Linked DNA regions of Homo sapiens: all the other regions are linked to region 4. Evidence: promoter capture Hi-C in 16 types of primary human blood cells and fetal thymus (Javierre and others, 2016). All regions are on one chromosome and are shown on one strand. The core of a region is centred on a gene start or on the middle of the fragment in contact, and the rest is flanking DNA. Distances in the headings are between cores, read along the strand shown.

What was found. Contacts are between HindIII fragments. The CHiCAGO score rates a contact against its expected background, and 5 or more counts as called.
Region 1: a contact is called between a fragment that was not itself captured here and the fragment with the promoter of WDR47 in region 4, in 2 of 17 cell types (erythroblasts and total CD8 T cells). The highest score is 6.6, in erythroblasts.
Region 2: a fragment that was not itself captured here is called in contact with the fragment with the promoter of WDR47 in region 4 in 1 of 17 cell types (M2 macrophages); the score reaches 5.4 in M2 macrophages.
Region 3: a fragment that was not itself captured here is called in contact with the fragment with the promoter of WDR47 in region 4 in 1 of 17 cell types (neutrophils); the score reaches 5.4 in neutrophils.

What each region holds. Positions count from the first base shown.
Region 1 is chr1:108,827,934-108,831,939 of GRCh38, forward strand. AKNAD1 (AKNA domain containing 1) reads right to left here. Exons shown (of 16, transcript NM_152763.5): 10 at 2,626-2,717. All of the region lies in intron 2 of LOC105378891 (a long non-coding RNA gene), which reads left to right. Among named protein-coding and RNA genes, the nearest start is that of AKNAD1, 27 kb to the right of the region's middle. The HindIII fragment of the contact is 371 bases long and covers 1,579-1,949 here.
Region 2 is chr1:108,785,336-108,789,787 of GRCh38, forward strand. All of the region lies in intron 11 of STXBP3 (syntaxin binding protein 3), which reads left to right. Among named protein-coding and RNA genes, the nearest start is that of STXBP3, 41 kb to the left of the region's middle. The HindIII fragment of the contact is 1,690 bases long and covers 2,194-3,883 here.
Region 3 is chr1:109,196,636-109,200,793 of GRCh38, forward strand. It overlaps ELAPOR1 (endosome-lysosome associated apoptosis and autophagy regulator 1), which reads left to right. Exons shown (of 22, transcript NM_020775.5): 16 at 839-1,019; 17 at 1,344-1,440; 18 at 1,938-2,039; 19 at 3,219-3,345; 20 at 3,424-3,602; 21 at 4,100-4,158. Among named protein-coding and RNA genes, the nearest start is that of SARS1, 15 kb to the right of the region's middle. RefSeq lists an enhancer at 702-1,901. The HindIII fragment of the contact is 6,896 bases long and covers 1-4,158 here.
Region 4 is chr1:109,040,371-109,044,798 of GRCh38, forward strand. It overlaps WDR47 (WD repeat domain 47), which reads right to left and starts at 1,732. Exons shown (of 15, transcript NM_001142551.2): 1 at 1,492-1,732. RefSeq lists a silencer at 1,380-1,929. The HindIII fragment of the contact is 10,570 bases long and covers 1-4,428 here.

The DNA of each region.
Region 1 (4,006 bases), core at 514-3,013, 210 kb before region 4:
ATTTGGAGTTTTCCTCATGCATCAAAATCCATTCCAGGCTGGGTATGGTGGCTCATGCCTGTAATCCCAGCACTTTGGGAGGCCAAGGAGGGTGGATGGCTTGAGACTAGGAGTTCAAGGTCAGCCAGGGCAACATGGCAAAACCTCATCTCAAAAACAAACAAACAAACAAACAAACAAACAAACAGTTCCTACCAGGGGAAGAAACTATGCTATACGTCAGTAATGGGTCACGTAGCTTTGGTCCTGGAAGTACAAGCTGATTACATCCAACAACTCCAGCAAAGTGGGCTTTGCCGGGTGTCTGTGGGACTAAAGGCTGAGGGAGCACGTGAAGGTGATTTTAGTTGCACATGGCCACCAGGTGGCGTCAGAAAGAAGCAACTGCAATGGACATTGTTCAGGAGCCTTCCTGTGGCCCACCTGCAGCTTCCTCCCTCCTCCTCAGAAATCCCAACTCCTCCAAAGGAATTCGAATTAATAACAGTTCTGAACAAAGCTCTTGCTAAGCTCCTGGGATACAGTCATAGCCCCCAGGGAAAGTTGTTCATTCTTAGTATGGAAGGCACTGTGCCCGAGATATCCTGGCATAAATGAGGCAGATTGCCCAGGGCTAGGGTTTGAGCCCAAGGCATTGCTGGGCAAACACATGCTCGCCGCGCTGTGCCCTGGCCTGCTGTTGGCGGAGAAGGGATGGGGCTGCGGGTTTGTGGGGCTGGGGCTGAGAAGCCAGGCTCTTTCCCTCCTCTTGGAAAAACATGCTGTCCTCTTGAGTCACATATTTTCTCACACCTCATTTTCTGTCTCCACCCTTCTCCTCTGGGGCATTTGAACATCTGCTCTCCAAAGTGGGAAACTTGGATCTCACTCAAGTGCATGCAGTCCAACACAGGACTTTTTCTGCTTTTAAACTCCTTTGTGTACTCAAATCTTCTGGCCAAACATAATTCCTCTGGAGAAGACAGTTTTTCAACAAGACAAAGCAGCTAAAGTACACACTTAAATCCAAAGTTTTGCATCAGAAATAACATAAAGGGATAAGCATATTTTACATTTTATACATATGTAATTTATCCACTTATATATAAACAATTTACAAATATCCTGAAAACAGTATGTACCTCAGCAAGCTTCATAAAGGACAAGTCCCATCAGAGAGAGATTTAATCTTCTAACAGAAAGAATATATAGTCCTCCCTTCAATCAATAATTCCTCAGGGATTATGTAAGTTACAAGATTTTAATTCATAAGTCATGTGTATCTTCTCATCACTCCCCAGCAGTGGATTCACTGTGAGATTTGATTTTACACTTGGTTGTGCTTGTCTTTCCAGCTTGTCTATCATAAAAAAGTATTATTTAGTCTGGAACATTGGTCCCTGTCTTGGTACTTAATGTACTTCTGTAGGGTCTAGACTAGGAATTTAGAAGAGAGAAATTTAGTACCTTGAGTGCTTAATAAAAATGGTTCTTTAATGTCAAAATACTTTCATTATACTTAGTAAAACCTTTAAAAATCCAAAATTAGACTTTAATTCAATAAATAAAAATAGTAGGCCTGGGATGACTCAGTGAGTAAGCTTCATGAGTGCCCCTTGGATTAAAGGGCAGCTCAAAGCTGATGACTGACATGGTGGTTTAATGACCCACACACAATGACACATGACCATTTTTAGCACGAGCTTCATGCAGTTTCTTTTTTCAGGGGTGGACACTCATTAGAACTCTTAAGGCAGGTGCCCATTCCCACAATGGAATGCTTTCTAACAGGAAGCCTCAGTCTTTCAGACCCTGTCATCTGCTTCTATTAGAATCCATTACGTACATATAACAGTGGTTGCTAAACACCTGCTGCCTCCCTGACTCTTGACCTTCCAAAGGTCAATGAGCCGAGCTTTGGCCGGAGTCCACAGTGAGCTTAGAGGTAACATCTCTCGCTACCTGAAAGAAGCTTCAAATAAATGATACTGAATCGACACAGATTAATAGTTGCACCAATGGGTGTTTCAAAAACAAAGGATTTCTCCTGAGGATTTTACATGATTTACAGCTTGTTAGCTCTGGAAGATTTCGTCCTTAGGAATGGGAAGAAATCAGCCCTGAGAAGAGGGATGAGGCTTGTTCCTGGGACTGGGGGGCTCAGGTGAAACCCAACAGAGAAGACTTTTGCTCATCATAAGGAGAGAGTAGGGATGGTGGGAGCTGTTTGTTATACAGGATAAGAATCCCCCATGTGGGCAATGATCAAAAGCCTACAGGACCACCCTCCGTGGGCTGTAACCATGATTCTTAACCAAGGGGGCTTATCGGAATCACCTGGGGAGATTTAAAAGCAATATTCCTACCAGAGCCCCACCGCTGGCGATGCTGAGACAGTAGGTGGGATGGAGGCATGTGCATGATTGTAAAATCTCCCATGGTGATTTTGATGGTCTCCCCAGTTGAGGACCACTGCTAGAGGATCTGTAGGGTGCGAGGGAGGCTGGGCTCTGTGCCCAGGCCTGAGATCTGTGACTCTATAACTCAGCCAGTGGCCTCAGTTAGTTGCCGCCCACTCTCACTGGAGTTACTATGCCAGGACTGACTCCAATCCACCCTGGGAATGTAGCCACAAGAAGCCCTCACCATTCAAGGAGCCTGCGACAGAAGGCACAGCTCGGACTGGGTGCCGTCATCTCTGCACAATCCTGCCTTCTTGGAGTGCCGTTGGGATCCTCCTGCGCCACAAAGCACACAGATGGAGATGTGATAGAGGATGTGACTCACGCCGCGGCTGCACACGCACAGCCCAGCAAGCAGCTGAGGTCCGGCTGAACTTGCCACCTCAGGCAGAGAGACTCGCCAAACCTCTCCTCCAGTTGGGGAAAGGGAGGCGCAGGGGGACAGGAGGGAAAGAAGAAAGAGCCCATCCTTAGTTCTGATGTGTCACTCAGTCGGGGCTGCGCCTCTAATGGCCTGGGCTGAAGAATGGAAGTTTCCACCCTGGCTTGCTTCCTTCCTCCTCTAAACAGATTTTAAAATCTGGTGTACAGATGACAGAATACTCTCCCCTTTTTATCTTTCCCTTAGTTTCAAATTACTCCAAGCTTCGCCAGATAATGAACAGATTTAGGAACATAATTTTTAGATCTATTAATCTGACCGCTGGCTAGTAGAGCTCTAAAAGCCTTTCTAAATAAATATATTCAACTATGAATTAAAACAGGGTTTAGGGACTGTCTGGGGGCCTAAATGATTGGTTATATGTCCCTCTTTAACACAAAACAATTACTCCACTGACCTGTGAGGGCTGTTACCACCCACTGTGTATTTTTGACTAAGGTCTTACCCTTTATGTAAGTAAAAAATAAATGTACTTTTCCCATCATTATAAACAATGGCAGAAGCATCATTGTACACATAGCTTTTTCCACATCTTGGATTACTTCCTGAGGAAATGTCTGGGCCAAAGGTTGCGAACATGTTTGTGTGATGACCCATATTGCCAAATTGCTTTCCACAAAAGTTGTACAGATTTCACAGCCACCAACAGTGTGGACGGCTCAGTTTGACCACACCTTCCTCTGCATCAGGAATTATCACTTGAAAATGTTTCTGTTAATTGAAGGGAGGGGTGTGTCACCTTTTGTGTTAATTTGCATTTCCTCTGTGACTAAAGGAAATAAGTCTGTTCCTATATGCTGATTTATTGGTTGTATTTCCTACCTGTGACTTTTTTTTTTTTTTTTGAGACGGAGTCTCACTCTGTTGCCCAGGCTGGAGTGCAGTGGCCTAATCTCAGCTCCCGGGTTCAAGCAATTCTTCTGGCTCAGCCCCCCAAGTAGCTGGGATTACAGGTGCCCACCACTACCCCCAGCTAATTTTTTGTATTTTTAGTGGAGACAGTTTCACCATGTTGGCCGGGCTGGTCTTGAGCTCCTGACCTCATGATTCGCCCACCTCGGCCTCCCAAAGTACTGGGATTACTTTAATTGTGAGTAATTGTGTGAGCCACTGCGCCCGGCCT
Region 2 (4,452 bases), core at 1,789-4,288, 250 kb before region 4:
GCCCAACACCACGTGTAAGCCACCAGCTTGCACCATCTGAAGCAATGACCTGAGTTCTACTTTGGCCCCTTTTAGCCACAGCTGGGATGCAGGGTACCAAATCCCAAGACCACACAAAGCGGCAAGGCTCTGAGCCTGACCCACGAAACCATTTTTTCCTCCTTGGCCTCTGGACCTGTGATGGGAGGGGCTACCACGAAGGTCTCTGACATGCCCTGGAGACATTTTCCCCGTTGTTTTGGTGATTAACATTTGGCTCCTTGTTTCTTATGCAGATTTCAGCAGCCAGCTTGAATTTCTCCCCCGAAAATGGGTTTTTCTATCATATCGTCAGGCTGCAGATTTTTCAAACTTTTATGCTCTGTCACCTCTTGAATAAATGACTGCTGAGAAGTTTCTTCTGCCAGATAACCCTAAATCATCTCTCTTGAGATCAAAGTTCCCCAGATCTCTAGGGCAAGGACAAAATGCCACTAATCTCTGCTAAAGCATAGCAAGAGTCACCTTTGCTCTAGTTCCCAAGAAGTTTATCATCTCCAGCTGATACCACCTCAGCCTGGATTTGATTATCCATATCACTGTCAGCATTTTGGCCAAAATCACTCAAGTTTCTAGGAAGTTCCAAACTTTCCCACATTTTCCTGTCTTCTTCTGAGCCCTCCAAACTGTTCAACCTCTGCCTGTTACCCAGTTCCAAAGTTTCTTCCACATTTTCAGGTGTCTTCACAGTAGCACCCCACTCCTGGTACCAAAACTGTATTAGTCCATTCTCACGCTTTTATGAAGAAATACCTGAGACTGGGTAATTTATAAAGAGATTCAGTTGACTCACAGTTCCATATGGCTGCAGAGGCCTCAGGAAACTTATAGTCATGGTGAAAGGCACCTCTTCACAGGGTGGCAGGGGAGAGAAAGAATGCCGAGTGAAGGAGGAAGCCCCTTATAAGACCATCGGATCTCATGAGAACTCACTCACTATCACAAGAACAGCATGGGGGAAACTGCCCCCATTATTCAGTTATCTCCACTTGGTCCTGCCCTTGACGCGTGGGGATTATTACAATTCAAGGTGAGATTTGGGTGGAGACACAGAGCCAAACCATGCCATTCACTCAAATTAATTTTGATTTATGGTGTGAGGTAAGGGTCTAGCTTCATTTTATTTCGATATACATATCTGATTACTCAAGCACTGTTTATTGTAAAGACCATCCTTTCACCATTGAGTTGCAGTAATGCATTTGTTGTGAATCAAGTGACCATAAATGTGTGGGTCTGTGGACTCCATGTCCTTTTCCATGGTCAATTTGTCTATCCTTGTAACAAGACCACACTGTCTTAACTAGTGTACCTTTGTAATGGTTTTGAAATTTGGTAGTATAAGTCTTCCAGCTTTGTTCTTCAAGATTGTCTCAGCTGTTACAACCTTTGTCTTTTAATACACATTTTAGATTCTGCTTGACAATTTCAACAGAAACATTTAACTGAAATTTTGATTGGGATTACATGAATCTGTACACTAATTTGGGAAGAACTGACAAAAATATTGCATCTTCTGATCCAAGAACATAGAATATAGCTCCACTTATGTAGATAGTTTATCTCAGCCGCATTTTATAATTTTCATTTTAGTGGTATTGCACATTTTTTCTTTATTTCTAGGTATTTGATTTTTTGGTGTTATAAATGGTATTTTTTAAATTCCATTTTACTTTATTAGTATATAAAATGTGATTGATTTTTGTATATTTACCTTGGATCTGGTGACCTTGCTAAATTTATTTTTTAATTCTAGTACTTTGTTTATAGATTGGCTTTTTTGTTTTTAAGAGATCGGAACTCTGTTGGCCAGGCTAGTCTCTGAATTCAAGCAATCCCCCCACCCTTGCCTCCCTAGTAGCTGGGACTACAGGCAGGTACCAGTGCACCTAGCTGGATTTTTATATACACAGTAATATAATCTGTGAATAAAGAAAATTTAGTGTCTTCCTTTCTAAATTAATCTTCCAGAGGTGTCCAAAGGAGAGAATACAGTCATGGGTTCTTAGTTTCTGTTTCGGCTAGTAAAGTCCCTTCCTTATCCCTCTTTTCCACTTATCACTAGAGACAGAAACTAAAAACCATGGCTTCAGGCTGCAAAAAGCCTAAAACAAAACAGAACAACAACAACAACAAAATAAGGTGGGTTAGACAAGCTTGTCATACGTTTAAAATTTTTTTTTTTTAGTAGTTAATACCTCCTGGTTCTGGCTGATACCTCCAGTATAACATGAAATCAAACTGGTGATAATGAGCGTCCTTGTCTCATTCCCAGCTTTATGGGAAATGAGTTCAATATTTCATCATTAAGTATTATGTTAGTTTTAGGTAGTTTTCTTTTATCAGATTAAGGATGTTCCTTTCTATTCTTAGTTTACCAACAGGTTTTTATGTGTTTCTGTTTTTTGTTTTTTTCTTTTTTCTTTTTTTTAAGAGACAGGGTCTTGTTCTGTCACCCAGGCTGGAGTGCAGTGGTGCAGTCTCAACTCACTGCAGCCTCAACCTCTTGGGCTCAAACGATCCTCCCACCTCAGGCCCCCAAGCAGCTGGAATTACAGGTGTGCACCACCATGCCCAGCTAATTTTTGTGTGTTTTTAATAGAGACAGAATTTCACCATATTGCTCAGGCTGGTCTCGAACTCCTGAGCTCAGACAATCCTCCTGCCTCAGCCTCTCGAAATGCTGAGATTACAGGCGTGAGCCACCACACCCAGCCTGTTTCTGTTTTCTTTTAATCAGGAAATTTCGATGTTGGATTTCATCAAAGGCATTTTGATATTGTCTTTTTTTCCCCTTTATTCTGTTAATGTGATGAATTACATTTATTGACTTACTAACATAAAAGTAACCATTTCTAGAATAAACTCCACTTGATCATGATGCATCATCCTTTTCCTCTATCACTGGATTTTGTTTGCTAATATTTTGTTGTAGGATATTTGCTTCTATATTTATGAGAAATACTTTTCTGTAATAGTCCTTTTTTGTAATGTTCTTGTCAGGTTTTAGCAGCAAGATTTTTTTGGTCTTATGAAATGAATTGTGATGCACACTTTGTCATTCCATTCTCTGAAAGAGTTTGTGTAAGATTGTTACTGCTTGTTCTATTGCTGCTTGAAAGAATTCACCATTGAAGCAGTTCAGGCATAGAGACTTCTTTATGGGGAGGTCTTTCGTTATAATTAATGATAAGTTATTTAATAGATATAGAACTATTTAGTTTTTTACTTTTTCTTCATTAGTTTTGGGATATCGCATTTTTCAGGGAATTTGTCTATTATATCTAAATTTTGAAATGTCCTCTTATCCTTTCAATATGTGTAGAATCTATAGTTAGATTTTATTTACTAATCTTGCTATTGTTAATTTGTTTATTCCCCTATATATTATTAATATCCCCTGCAGTCCGGGCACGGTGGCTCACGTCTGTAATCCCAGCACTTGGGGAGGCCAAGGCAGACGGATCACCTGAGGTCAGGAGTTTGAGACCAGTCTGGCCAACATGGTGAAACCCTGTCTCTACTAAAAAAAATACAAAAATTAGCCGAGCTTGATGGTGCCTACCTGTATCCCAGCTACTCGGGAAGCTGAGGCAGGAGAATTGCTTGAACCTGGGAGACGGAGGTTGCAGTGAGCCAAGATAGTGCCACTGCACTTCAGCCTGGAGAAAAGAGTGAGACTCCATGTAAAAAAAAATAAAATAAAATTCACTGCATATGTTATTAATATTTCAAAGAACCAACATTTGTCTTTGTTGATTTTCACTCTTGCATGTTTTATCTTTAATTAGCTGATTTTTACTCAGTTTTATTTCCTTCCTTCAGCTTACTTTGTTTTAAATGAAGCTTGTCCAACCTGTGGCCCATGGGTCACATACAGCCCAGGACGGCTGTGAATGTGGCCCAACACAAATTTGTAAACTTTCTTAAAACATTATGAGATGTTTTTGTGATTTTTTTTTTAACCTCATCAGCTATTGTTAGTGTATTTTATATGTGGCCCAAGACAGTTCTTCTTCCAGTGTGGCCCAGGGAAGCCAAAATATCGGACACCCCTGGTTTAAATTTTTTCTTCTAGCTTCCTGAGTTGGAGTTTTAGAACATTGATTTCCAACCTTTCTTCTGTTCTATTGTATATATTTTATAGTTATTTACATCTTCAAACTTAGCTGCATCCCAGGAGTTTTGGAATAACTTATTTTCATTTAGTTCAAAACATTTTCTAACCCTTATTATGATTTCTTCTTTGACCCATGTGTTATATAGGGAATACGTTTTTAAATTTCAAAGCATTTGGGAATTTTCTAGTTATCTTTCTGTTACTGAGTTGTAATTTAATTATACAGTGGTCAGAGAATGTGCACTATATGACATCAGTCTTTTAAAATATGTTAAGACTTGATTTATGGGGCT
Region 3 (4,158 bases), core at 95-2,594, 160 kb after region 4:
TACTTCCTACAATCTAGAAAAAAAAAAAAAGGCTGAGACACCAGATTTAGCACTTTTTTTTTTTTTGAGGTGGAGTCTCACTCTTTTGCCAGGCTAGAGTGCAGTGGCACGATCTCTGCTCACTGCAACCTCCGCCTCCCAGGTTGAAGCGATTCTCCTGCCTCAGCCTCCCGAGTAGCTGGGACTACAGGCATGCGCCAGCACGTCCAGCTAATTTTTGTGTTTTTAGTAAAGACGGGGTTTCACCACGTTGGCCAGGATGGTCTCAATCTCTTGACCTCATGATCCACCTGCCTCGGCCTTCCGAAGTGCTGGGATTACAGGTGTGAGTCACTGCACCCAGCCAGCACCATTTATAATAAAATTTATAACATTGAAAATGTTGACTGGGCACAGTGGCTCACCCCTGTAATCCCAACACTCTGGGAGACTGAGGCAGGAAGATTGCTTGAGCCCAGGAGTTCAAGACCAGCCTGAACAACACAGAGAGGCCCTATCTTTACGAAAAAAAAAAAAAAAAATTAACCTGCGGTTCCAGCTACTTAGGAGGCTGAGGCAGGAGGATCACTTGAGCCCAGGAGTTCAAGGCTTTAGTGAGCTATGATTGCACCATTGCACTCCAGCCCGGGCAATAGATCAAGACTCTGTCTCAAAAAGACAAAACAAAACAAAAAAATCAAATCTGTCTCGTCATTAGACCTGGGATGAATCATTCCCCTACAACATACCATTGAAACGCTGAAAATTTAGATGTAAAAAAGCCTTCCCTATTCCCTTCTGGGAATTCCTCTGTGACCACTCACTTCTTCCTACTTCTTCCTCCCCACTCCCCAACCAGGGTAGGAAAATGTCTGTGTGCACCGACAATGTCACTGACCTCCGGATTCCTGAGGGTGAGTCAGGGTTCTCCAAATCTATCACAGCCTACGTCTGCCAGGCAGTCATCATCCCCCCAGAGGTGACAGGCTACAAGGCCGGGGTTTCCTCACAGCCTGTCAGCCTTGCTGATCGACTTATTGGTGAGTAACTCCGCTGCCTCAGCCTTGTTTGAGAGTGTGTGTGTGTGTGTGTGTGTGTGTATGTGTAAGAGAGTGTGAGGTTACCAGTCTGGGAGGTAAAAGGCCCCACATGAGGGGCCCAACCTCTTGACCTGTGTTTTCTATTCCACTCTGTGTGCAAAGTGCTCCCAGGGACTCTGACAAACCCTTGTTTCACCCTTTCATAAGCCACTCAGGGATGTGATGAGATGAAGTGAGGTTGGATGTTGACAGGTATTGGAAGAATTGAAGTGGTTGCCAGCTAATGCTACTAGTGAGAACTAATTAGGAGCTCTAATTTGGCAGGGGTGACAACAGATATGACTCTGGATGGAATCACCTCCCCAGCTGAACTTTTCCACCTGGAGTCCTTGGGAATACCGGACGTGATCTTCTTTTATAGGTGAAGATGAGAGGCTAGGCTAATGCAAGTGAAACCTAGGACTCCTCCATAATTTCTGCTGCATCCCTCCCTCTCTAGCCACCTACTGCTTATCAAGCCAGAACATGTCTGAGGTCTAGCAGATCTGCCCAGTCATGATAGCTAAGGGCTGGGAGTTCCTGATCCCAGCTTCCTGGATATTACTGGAGCAGATCTGCCCTAGAGGCAAGGAGAAATATTGGATGATCTGCAGTGGACTTCCCTTCCAGCCTAAGCAGGCTCCAGTGTATGCTAGCCATGACTTTCCTAAACCAGGGCATTTCCCCCTTGACTACATATTGTTGATCCCCACCCTTTCCACGTATAAACCAAGGCCTGTGCACTCCCTGTGTGCCAGGCTAAAGCCCAAGTCCTGACTTCCCCAGCAAGGGAATTGCTCCATGCGGATTTCTCTTGGTGGCTGTCCAATAACACAGCTGAGTGACTCATTCCCTCATGGGGGCTGGCTTTCTCTGCAGGTCCAATGATGTGACCCAGTCCTGCAGTTCTGGGAGATCAACCACCATCCGCGTCAGGTGCAGTCCACAGAAAACTGTCCCTGGAAGTTTGCTGCTGCCAGGGTAAGCCCTGCAAAGGGATGTAACAAAGGCCAAAATCTCCCTTGAAGTCATTCCATCCTGAGATCCAGAGATTACTGAAAAAGAGCAAAAAAGAAAAGAGTTTGAGATCCATTAATGGGTGCTTAGGGGCACAGTCATGGCCCCAGACCCTCAGTCTTCATATGGCAAGAATGGGGTAGAAGGAAGAGTGAAAGCTATTCTCATATTCCTGGTCCATTAAGGCAGCAGCTGCGTAGCATGGTAACCAACAGCTCGGCTGAGAGCCAGGTTGAATCATCTCCTCCACTAACCAGCTATGTTATCATGGATGCATTTCTTACCTTCTTTAGGCCTCTTTTTTCCATATCTGTAAAAATGGGCATAATGCTAAATTCCCTCAGCGGGTTGTTTTGAGGATTAAATGAGACAAGGAGACTTTAGGACGTTTCATGATCTCTGGCTATTATGAGGATTAGTAAAGGTTTAGGGATCCTAGGAATCTCTCTGCAACGAAAATACCCAGTTCTGAGGTTAATAGCTGAGTGAACTAAATCAAAAATTTCTAAATGAATATGACCACAGGACACCCCCTCCCCTCCCCGCATAACAGCAGCTAACATCTTGACGGGCACTAGCGTCTTGAGGAAGACGTTTTGGATATGCTGCGCCTAAACTGACTGGGGAGATGGGGAGCAAAGCAGGGCGTCTTGACCCAGTAGTGGTGTCTGAGTGTCAAATCCCTGTTCTTGCCATTGTAAACATCACAGTAAAGTACATAACAGGTATCCATACCGGAAGTTCATTCCTGAACCCCACCTCAACTCCAATCCCACCCCGAGGAAGCTGCATCAAAGTGGCTATTGCAAAATGTCACAAGTCTGTGGGGAGGACAGGAACCTCAAAGGGGTTGATGAGACAGCCATGCTGGAGCTCAGACACCTTACAATAGCTCTCATAAGATGTCAGCAAAAACATAAACGGGCAGAGGGTGGGGAGCCCACTGGAGGCCAGGAAGGCCTCTTATCAGTGAAATCAGAGATCAAAACCTGTGTTAAGGACTAGTTGGAAGGATCCTGGTAGGGCTAATGGTTTGGGCAGGGAGAGGGTAAATCAGGCAAGCTATGAGACAACAGGCTTCCAACCAGATCTTCCCCACCCCTCCAGCGAGTGAGAGCTCAGGTCTCTTTTCTGCTTTGCTAGAACGTGCTCGGATGGGACCTGTGATGGCTGCAACTTCCACTTCCTGTGGGAGAGCGCGGCTGCTTGCCCGCTCTGCTCAGTGGCTGACTACCATGCTATCGTCAGCAGCTGTGTGGCTGGGATCCAGGTGGGTTTCCCTCTGATCGGGCACTTCCATGAGAGAAGGGAATGGGAGATCTGAGTTCCTTGTTTTTCTCCCCAACAGAAGACTACTTACGTGTGGCGAGAACCCAAGCTATGCTCTGGTGGCATTTCTCTGCCTGAGCAGAGAGTCACCATCTGCAAAACCATAGATTTCTGGCTGAAAGTGGGCATCTCTGCAGGCACCTGTACTGCCATCCTGCTCACCGTCTTGACCTGCTACTTTTGGAAAAAGAATCAAAAGTACATGTTGCGGTATTGGAGTGTGGGGATGGACAGGGTTGGATTATTGATCAGGGAGAATATCTGAAAGTATAAATTAATGGGGTTTTTCTCTGGAGTTGGCTACAGACTCTGTGACTTATCCAGTGCATGGTTTGGTTATCCTGACTCCTGAACAGGGATGGTACCACGTGGCAGTCTATAAATGGATGTTAAATTCTCAAAAGCAAAGAGTATCCTCAGTTTGCTATTATTAACAGTACAGAGAATGACATTATGATTTTGATATTTCCATTAAATTTTGAGATCATAGAAACAGACAGCCTTAAGGAACAAAGATCACTGAACTGGGAACTAAGATTCCTTCTATTACCCCAGCCCTGACACCATTTTACCATGCTTCAGTCTCCTTACCCATGGCATGGGAATAGGACCTGTTCATAGCCTAACCTCTCTACCTCTTTCCCCCTTATTCCCACATTTTGGGATCTTGTCTTTCCCATCCTCCTGTTTTATAGACTAGAGTACAAGTACTCCAAGCTGGTGATGAATGCTACTCTCAAGGACTGTGACCTGC
Region 4 (4,428 bases), core at 482-2,981:
TTGAACACCATTATGTAAGTAGTAACATAGGATAGTACCCCTGTTCTCTTATGACACATTCTTAACAGTACTGGTTTTTAAGGCGAGGGAGAAAAGAACCAGGAAGTGGACCAGTGGGAGATAAACACAGGTTAAAATCCCGTCCAAAAAAAAAAAAAAATTTACATCTTCATAATGGCATCCAAATTCAAGTGTTTGGGTTTTGGCTTTTTTACCTAACAATATACTGTTGTGACTTGACTTTTCCATTACCGTGTAATAATGTTTCTTTCCTATTGGAAGCAATCTCTCCTAATCTCCCAAACCTAAAGTAGAATTATTCATTTCATCTTCTTCCTAAATGAGACCTCGACAATATGCCATATAAAGGAAAATGGGCTCTTAGGCGTTTCTCCTTCTTAGTAAAATGCCAATGCAACATATGCCAACACTGGAGACAAAAAAATTCTACTTGAATTTACTGTGAAAAAAAGATTTATAGCATTTTTTAAACCTACATGTTCATTTCTGTGCCATTAACTTTTTGAGGCATTCTACAGAGTCTCCAACAAAGAGAGAAATAAGTATTAGGATCACAACCTACGAATCTGGGTGGAACAAAGACTTCTCCTTTCATTATGCAGAGAAAACCAAGTTGCCAAAAAAAAAAAACGGTCCCCTCAGATACCATGCACGGTTACTAACTGCACGTCTGGGTACAGAGAAGGAAAAATCATCTGGTCAAAAGCCCAAATGCCGCCCCGGCCTACCCTCGCCCCCCGCCCCCGCCCCCTTTGCCCATGGCCTCGCCCCAGAGCTAGAGTTCCAATATTTTTCTCCCCAATAAAGGGAAGCGGTTTAACCCTTTGAGTTCCACAACCTTGCGTTCTTCTACGCAGGCGCCCCTCCAGCGCAATCCCAGTTCTAAATCGAGTCGCTGCCCCTTTCCGCGACCACACCCAGATCCCCAAAGGCCTGCTCCCATCCCGACCATTGATGTGAGAAAGGCCAAAACCGGCCCCAGCGGGGCTCCCAGCCCCGCCGCTCCCTCTCTTCCTCCGGGCCAAGGCGTGCCCAGAAAGGGACGCGAGCGCGCCCCTCAGTTCTCGCACGGGCTCGACCAAGGGGCGAGGAAGGAAGAATCGGCGCAGCGGCGAGATGGGCACGAACCTCGCGCTCACTTGCTGCTCAGTGCCAGGGCGAGGGGCGTCGCTCTGCCCCCAGAATCCAACTGGTAATGTGGGAAAGGTGTGGTCCAGGACCGGTGACCTCGAACCGGGGCCCAGCAGTTCGCAGATCCTCACCCCGCGATGCTGGGGCCTCACCCACGACCCCAGCCCCCTCCCAGTCGGCACCCAAGCCCACTAAAGACCCCTCTCCGGGGCCGCAAACACAGTCCTCGGGGCCGCCCGGTCGGAGCCGTGTCAGGTGGTGACAGGAGGCGACGGGTGACCATGGCAACCCGAGGTGTGCAGCGGACCGACCCAGCCTCCGACTCCCGGAGTCACCCACCTGAGGGCTCCAGGGCAAGCCCGGAGGAGCGGCGGAGGAGAACGCGGCTGGGAGGCCGGCGGCCAGGGCCCCGAAGCGGCCGGCTCCGGGCTGCGGCAGGAGCACGACGGCGGCGGTCTGGGTTTGGCGTCGGTCCTCCCTCCTACCGCCCGCGCGTCAATCCATCAGTTCGTCAATCCGTCCTTCTCACGTCCGCCCCTCCCGGCCCAGCGACTCCTCAGCTCAGCCTCTTGCAGACTGCGGTTGTCAAGTGCCGGGGAGCCGAGCTCTACCCGCGAGCGGCAGCCAATCGCCGCGCTTCCCCGAGGCGCCTCAGGACCCCGCCGCGCGGGGCGGCCAGGCAGGTGCCTGAGCCGAAGGGCGAGTCGGCGGGGCGGGGCGGGGCGGGGAGGGGCGTGGAGGGGCGGGCCCAAAGCTGGGGCGGGGAGGGGCGGGGCGGACCAAAGCCTGGGCGGGGCGGACCAAAGCCTGGGCGGGGCGGGCGGGGGTCGGGCTTGGAGGGACCGGCTAGGGGCCCGGGGGAGTAGCAGAACGGGTGCGGCAATAGCGTGAGACTGGTGGCAGGGACGTAGACCCTTAGCTGGCCGGTGACCCCATGTCCCAAAATAGCACGAACAGGATTGTCGCCTGCAAATGGAGAAGACTGCGCATTAGGATTGACTCTTCATACTCCTCCCCGATAATTAATAAAGGTTAATGAAATTAATGTTGCCTTCTACCCTTCTTTCGCTGCTTTCCTAGGTCCCACTTCGTCCCAGAAAACTCCAGTAGTTTGTTTGTCCCCTTCCTGGTTTCTCATTTTGCAAAGCTGATCTGCCTTGAAAGCATTTTTCAGTTACTTAACATTTAATATGTTCAGGTTTTGTCTACTCCTGTTGGTTGTAAGCCCCTTATTCCACAAATATACGTGATGTTCAACCGAGCTTAATTAAGCATCCAGGAAGTATAACCATAAGGAAGAATACAATTACACAAACCTGTAAGAACATCATTCTCGGCCAGGCGCGGTGGCTCACGCCTGCAATTCCAGCACTTTAGGAGGCCGAGGCGGGCGGATCACCTGAGGTCAGGAGTTTGAGACCAGCCTGGCCAACATGGTGAAACCCCGTCTCTACTAAAAATACAAAAATTAGCCGGGTGTGCTGGCAAGCCTCCTGTAATCACAGCTACTTGGTAGGCTGAGGCAGGAGAATCGCTTCAACCTGGGAGACGGAGGTTGCAGTGAGCCGAGATCATGCCACTGCACTCCGGCCTGGGTGACAGAGCGAGAGACTCCGTCTCACAGAAAAAAGAACATCATCCTCACAGAGGCGAAAGTCCAGAGTGAGCTGGACCTCCCAAAAGGGGAAAATGGGGTAACAGTCTGGTAAAGAGAATAAACATCAAAAATATTTCTGGCACTCCCATGCTTATTGCAGTACTATTCACAATAGCCAAAATATAGAATCAACCTATGTCAATCAACAGACAAATGGATAAAGAAAATGTGGTACATATACACAATGCAATCTTTTTTTTTTTTTTTTTTTTTTGAGACGGAGTCTCGCTCTGTCGCCCAGGCTGGAGTGCAGTGGCGCCATCTCGACTCACTGCAAACTCCGCCTCCCGGGTTCACGCCATTCTCCTGCCTCAGCCTCCCGCGTAGCTGGGACTACAGGCGCCCGCCACCAGGTCCGGCTAATTTTTTTTTTTTTTTTTGTATTTTTATTAGAAACGGGGTTTCACCGTGTTAGCCAGGATGGTCTTGATCTCCTGACCTCGTGATCCACCCGCCTCGGCCTCCCAAAGTGCTGGGATTACAGGCGTGAGCCACCGCGCCCGGCCACACAATACAATCTTATTCACCCATTAAGAAAGAATGAAATCCTGTCATTTGCAGCAACATGGATGGGACGGGAGGACATTATGTTAAGTGAAACAAGACAAGCACAAAAAGACAAATATTGCACGTTCTCACACATATGTGGGAACTAAAAGAATTGATCTCGTGGAGGTAGTGAATAGAATGGTGGTTACCAGAGGCTAGAAAGTGTAGTGGAGGGCAAAGGGGGGATAAAGAGGTTAATGGGTACAAAAATACAGTTATGTAGCAGGAATAAATTCTAGTGCTCAATAGCATAATTGGGTGACTATAGTTAACAATAATCTATTCTATATTTCCAAACAGCTAGAAGAGAAGATTCAGAATGTTCCCAACACAAAGAAATAGTAAATGGCAGGCCAAGCGTGGTGGCTTATGCCTGTAATCTCAGCACTTTGGGAGGCCGAGGCGGGCAGATCACGAGGTCAAGAGGTCAAGAGATCGAGACCATCCTGGCCAACATGGTGAAACCCTGTCTCTACTAAAAATACAAAAATTAGCCGAGTGTGGTGGTGTGCGCCTGTAGTCCCAGCTACTCGGGAGTCTGAGGCAGGAGAATCACTTGAACCCGGGAGGCGGAGGTTGCAGTGAGCCGAGATTGGGCCACTGCACTCCAGCCTGGTGACAGAGCGAGACCGCGTCTCAAAAAAAAAGAAAAGAAATAATAAATGGGTGGGCACAGTGGCTCATGCCTGAAATCCCAGCACTTTGGGAGGCTTAGGCCAGAGGCTCACATGAGGCCATGAGTTAGAGACTAGCCTAGGCAACATAGTGAGACTCCCTCTCTACAAAAACAAGAATAAAAAATTAGACACGGTGAGACACACCTGCAGTCCTAGCTACTTGAGAGGCTGAAGTGAGAAGATAGTTTGAGCTCAAAGTCCGAGGCTACCATGAGCTATAATCACACTACTGCACTCCAGCCTGGGTGACTGAGTAAGACCCTGTGTCTTAATAATAATAATGCATTTCTAAGGTGATGGATATCCCAATTACCCAGATTTGATCATTACACATTGTATTTACTCCAGAAATATCTACAACTATTATGTAACTATAAAAATTAAAAATAAACA